Regions from separate parts of the Homo sapiens genome. Here region 2 is linked to region 1. Evidence: promoter capture Hi-C in human tissues and cell types (Jung and others, 2019). All regions are on one chromosome and are shown on one strand. The core of a region is centred on a gene start or on the middle of the fragment in contact, and the rest is flanking DNA. Distances in the headings are between cores, read along the strand shown. Region 1 holds the start of NOG (noggin). Region 2 has its middle 38 kb from the start of NOG.

Evidence for each region. The method cuts DNA at HindIII sites, captures the fragments that hold promoters and counts their contacts. A contact is called where the count stands out against the background at its distance.
Region 2: a fragment that was not itself captured here is called in contact with the fragment with the promoter of NOG in region 1 in 1 of the 25 tissues and cell types used here (lymphoblastoid cells).

The regions. Positions count from the first base shown.
Region 1 is chr17:56,592,409-56,595,108 of GRCh38, forward strand. It overlaps NOG (noggin), which reads left to right and starts at 1,291. Exons shown (of 1, transcript NM_005450.6): 1 at 1,291-2,700. The coding sequence starts at 1,816. The coding sequence ends at 2,514. RefSeq lists a silencer at 144-353. The HindIII fragment of the contact is 21,510 bases long and covers 1-2,700 here.
Region 2 is chr17:56,554,739-56,557,438 of GRCh38, forward strand. No RefSeq gene overlaps it. Among named protein-coding and RNA genes, the nearest start is that of NOG, 38 kb to the right of the region's middle. The HindIII fragment of the contact is 5,061 bases long and covers 1-2,700 here.

The DNA of each region.
Region 1 (2,700 bases), core at 41-2,540:
GAAGGTGCTGCACGCATTCTTGTGAAATTTGAGGGGACCGAGAAGGAATCTCAGGAAGTTTGTTTACACTGGGGGCCTGGAGACCTTCGGGAAAATAGCCAGAACCAAAACGGACCAGTCAGCAGACGCAGACACACACAAAGTGACAGGGACACAGAAGCAGAAGCTGAACTGGGCAGAGCGGGCAGCGGCCGACCCACCTCGCACGGCCGCCCCCGCCAGCGCCAGGTGCAGGGCTCATAGCGGGCCAGCAGAGGGCGCGCCGCCCCCAGGGAGCCGAGCGGCGGCCGCGCGGAGCCGGGCGGGCTAGGGGAGCCGCAGGCGAGCCAGTCGCGCCCCTGAGGCTAGGCCACTCAGGGTGCAGGACCCGGCCAAGGAGGAGGAGGATGGTGAGGAGCGGAACCCCCTCGTGGGCCCGAGGGGCAGACAGACAGGAGTGCTTCCTAAGAATTACATCACGCTGCGCAACGCTGCGGCTCTCGGACTCCCTGGTGCAAAGGGGGGTGGGGTAGGGGCTGTGTGTGTGTGTGTGTGTGTGTGTGTATATATGTGTGTTGGGGGGAGGGGACTTAGAGCAAGAGCCCGGGAGAGAAGAAGACGCGCTCGGGGAAAACGCTCCATGCACATGGAGAAATTTCTTGCTCCGAACTGCATGCACCGAGAAACGAGCCCCCAGCACTTCCCCGCTGCTCCCCTCCCAGTGCAAAGCACCCAGCTAGTGAGAAACCCTCCAGCCCCACCTCAAGCACCGCCCCCCCTCCCCAAACACCGGCTCTGCACCCTCCAGCCCGGCTCCAGCGCCGCCGCGAGCTTTCCCCAGGACTGGCCCTGGCGGGGCGCCTAGAGCCCCAGTTGCATTGCTCCAGGAGAAAGGAGGGGGGCGGTGCATTTTGCAGGAGGAGGAGAAGGGGGGTGGGTGGTGGGGGAGAGAGAAAATTGCGCGGAGACCTGCCAAGCGCCACCGCCGCCGCCACCGCCGCTGCCGCCGCCGCCGCCGCCGCCTGTGAGCTCCGGCGGGCAGCCGGACTGTCGGCTTCCCGGGGCATCTGGGTCCGGCGGGGCACAGCCCTGGGCGCTGCCGAAGCCGCCGCCGCCGCCTCCGCGGCGAGTACAGGCGGCTTCCCCCGGAGCCTGTGCAGCTCCAGCTCCTCGGGGGTGGAGAAGTGGGGGGTGGGGTTGTTGTTTGGGGGGAAGAAGGGGGAGGGGGCAACGCCGAGAGAGTCAGTGGTTTCCATGGTGATGGAGCTGAAAGTGCAGGAAATTTAAAGGCTTGGACCCTGCGAGACAGACAAACCGGTGCCAACGTGCGCGGACGCCGCCGCCGCCGCCGCCGCTGGAGTCCGCCGGGCAGAGCCGGCCGCGGAGCCCGGAGCAGGCGGAGGGAAGTGCCCCTAGAACCAGCTCAGCCAGCGGCGCTTGCACAGAGCGGCCGGACGAAGAGCAGCGAGAGGAGGAGGGGAGAGCGGCTCGTCCACGCGCCCTGCGCCGCCGCCGGCCCGGGAAGGCAGCGAGGAGCCGGCGCCTCCCGCGCCCCGCGGTCGCCCTGGAGTAATTTCGGATGCCCAGCCGCGGCCGCCTTCCCCAGTAGACCCGGGAGAGGAGTTGCGGCCAACTTGTGTGCCTTTCTTCCGCCCCGGTGGGAGCCGGCGCTGCGCGAAGGGCTCTCCCGGCGGCTCATGCTGCCGGCCCTGCGCCTGCCCAGCCTCGGGTGAGCCGCCTCCGGAGAGACGGGGGAGCGCGGCGGCGCCGCGGGCTCGGCGTGCTCTCCTCCGGGGACGCGGGACGAAGCAGCAGCCCCGGGCGCGCGCCAGAGGCATGGAGCGCTGCCCCAGCCTAGGGGTCACCCTCTACGCCCTGGTGGTGGTCCTGGGGCTGCGGGCGACACCGGCCGGCGGCCAGCACTATCTCCACATCCGCCCGGCACCCAGCGACAACCTGCCCCTGGTGGACCTCATCGAACACCCAGACCCTATCTTTGACCCCAAGGAAAAGGATCTGAACGAGACGCTGCTGCGCTCGCTGCTCGGGGGCCACTACGACCCAGGCTTCATGGCCACCTCGCCCCCCGAGGACCGGCCCGGCGGGGGCGGGGGTGCAGCTGGGGGCGCGGAGGACCTGGCGGAGCTGGACCAGCTGCTGCGGCAGCGGCCGTCGGGGGCCATGCCGAGCGAGATCAAAGGGCTAGAGTTCTCCGAGGGCTTGGCCCAGGGCAAGAAGCAGCGCCTAAGCAAGAAGCTGCGGAGGAAGTTACAGATGTGGCTGTGGTCGCAGACATTCTGCCCCGTGCTGTACGCGTGGAACGACCTGGGCAGCCGCTTTTGGCCGCGCTACGTGAAGGTGGGCAGCTGCTTCAGTAAGCGCTCGTGCTCCGTGCCCGAGGGCATGGTGTGCAAGCCGTCCAAGTCCGTGCACCTCACGGTGCTGCGGTGGCGCTGTCAGCGGCGCGGGGGCCAGCGCTGCGGCTGGATTCCCATCCAGTACCCCATCATTTCCGAGTGCAAGTGCTCGTGCTAGAACTCGGGGGCCCCCTGCCCGCACCCGGACACTTGATCGATCCCCACCGACGCCCCCTGCACCGCCTCCAACCAGTTCCACCACCCTCTAGCGAGGGTTTTCAATGAACTTTTTTTTTTTTTTTTTTTTTTTTTTCTGGGCTACAGAGACCTAGCTTTCTGGTTCCTGTAATGCACTGTTTAACTG
Region 2 (2,700 bases), core at 182-2,681, 38 kb before region 1:
GCAAAATGATGTGCAGCAGATAAGGAAGATTACATTACATGAACATTTAACAAATATGAACTCAAAAATATATGACGGCAACATAGAGAGGAAAAGAAATCATTTAAGTAGGCTGGGCACAGTGGCATGTGCCGGTAATCCCAGTTACTCAAGAGGCTGAGGCAGGAGGATTGCTTGAGCCCAGGGGTTTTAGACGAGATTGGGCAACATAGTGAGACCCAGGCTTAAAGTTTTGAAAATAGTAATAATAAAAATAAATAAAAGGGACAAAGAGAAATCATTTAAGTAGTGTGTGTGTCATTCTGAAATACTTCCACCCAATAAGCCTAAGTCCAAGGCAAGCTTGATGTGGGGGACAAAGAATCTCTTGATCTCTCAAACTGGCCTCAGTTCCCAACTGCCTCTCATAGAATAAGTATCTCTTCCTGCTGCGTGTGAGGCTAGTGTTTAAAGATACATGACCTATAACATAATCCCTACATGCAAGCCAAGCAGAAAATCAATATGTTCCAACGCTCGAGGAGACACAGGATAAAGTGACCTTCTGAAAAATGCTGTGCTGGTCCCCAGTGTGGCATAACCTAAGGAACTCCACTGTGTTTACAGAGAGGCTTATCACAGCACTGCTATCAAAACCGAGTGAAAATTTGGGAACCCTCTAAGTGTCCATCAGTAGTTCAGTAGGGTTTATTGATGTGCAATACTTCCATTTAATGGAATATTATGCAGCCATTAAAAATGATAGTGTAGTTCTGTATTTGTTAGAATGTAAAGATTAACACAGCATGTCATCAAGTAATAAAAAGATTATGTAAATGGACACACAGTACGATCCCATTTTTATTAAATTATAGCCATATATCTCTATGTATGAATAATCTATGTAAATATATCCTTAGAAAAATGCCTAGGTGAAGCTCAGCAAAATCTTAGTAGTAGAAATCTCTGGGTAATCGTATTTTGAGTGATTTGAGGGTTTTTTTCTGATTTAAAAAAAATCAATAAACTTTAAAAATAAACAATAAAGCTACCTTTAAAACTCATTCTATGGTTAGTTCCACTCTCATATAAGCAAATGGTTCCCAACCTTCTCCCCCACTGACCCTTGGTTATTGCTGCCTGGGGTTTGGCCATTCAATCATTTCAGAACTCACCAGAGAGGATACAAAAACTATGATACACATTTGCCAAATTTGATTCTATAGCTGTATGTTCCTTTGTCTTTTCTCTCTTTTGTCTTCACCAAATTAGTCTGTTGGATATTTTTCACTTCAAGAGGGACCAAATCTGTTGTAACTTACTTAGTGCAACTCAGGATAGCACCATATCTGCTCCTCTCTAGCACTCCCACATTATTCTCAGAAATAATAACCCATCAGAAGGTGCTTGGAGTGGTGAGCTACTGGTGAACATCCAGCTACATCTGCACCTCCATCTCCAGGAGACTTTGTCCCTTAGGGCTCAGCTTAGGTGCTGCCTCCTTCTGGAAGTCTCTGATCTCCCTTCACTGCTGAGTTAGCTGCCTTTTCCCATGTTCCCCGGGTGCCAATGTTCCTTCCTAGCATTGTAGTCTAATCCTAGTACTGTATCATATCACCGTGTGTTATTGTTGCCTGTTTATTTGTTTGTTCTTCCAATTGGACTGTGAAATCCTTGAGGGCAAGAGATTTCACCTTCTTCATTTTAATATCCCCAGCCCTGGCACAAGCTTAGCACACAGTGGGCATTTAATGTATGTATGTATGCTGAACAAATTAATGAGAAGGAATAGAGGTGGGACCACAGACCATTATCATGCATGGGTTTCATAAAATGACTGTTCATAATTTCTTTCCCAGTTTCTGTCTTCTCCCCCTCAGAAACACAGTTTTGATTTGCCTGAGGATGGGCCACAAGCCATGACCCTTATTTGAGATAGAACTCTCAGACTAATTTAGGATTAAAGAAGAAGGATGAGGAGACTATATTGGTCCGTCAAAGCGGGAAATCACGGATGAACCTGGCTCCAGGCATGCCTAGGTCCAGGAATTCAAGCACAATCCTCAAGACCCTCTCTCACCTTTTTCCCCGTTGCTTGGTACTGATGCTTTTTCCGCATATTGCCTTATTCTCTCCTATTCTGCAAATAGGTCATCACCAAATTGTAAAAAAGATGGCCACCTGCCATCCCCAATTCATATCCTCCTAGCTCTCTGTCATAAAAGGCACCACTTTCTCCTTCAAATCCAAAGTCCCTAAGAAAAAGAGGAAAAAAGGCTTGGTGTGGTAGCTCACGGCTGTAATCATAGCATTTTGGGAGACCAAGGTGGGAAGATTACTTGAGGCCAGGAGTTCAAGACCAGCCTGGGCAACATAGCAAGATCCTCTCTCTACAAAAAATTTAAAAATTAGCCAGGTGTGGTGGCATACCTGTAGTCTCAGCTACTCAGGAGGCTAAGGTAGGAGCACGGCTTGAGCCCAAGAGTTTGAGGCTGCAGTGAGCTATCATTGTACCACTACACTCCAGACTGGACGACAGAGAGACTATCTCAAAAAAAGAAAAAAAGTTCCAGGGAAAGATTCTGATGGGTCTGACTGCAGTTAAATGTCCATTCCTGACAGTGAAATGCAGTCCTGTGATTGGCAGGTCATGACCATGTCCCACCCTTACACTCAGGAGCATGAGAAACTGATTGGCTGTACCACCGAGTCCCATGATTG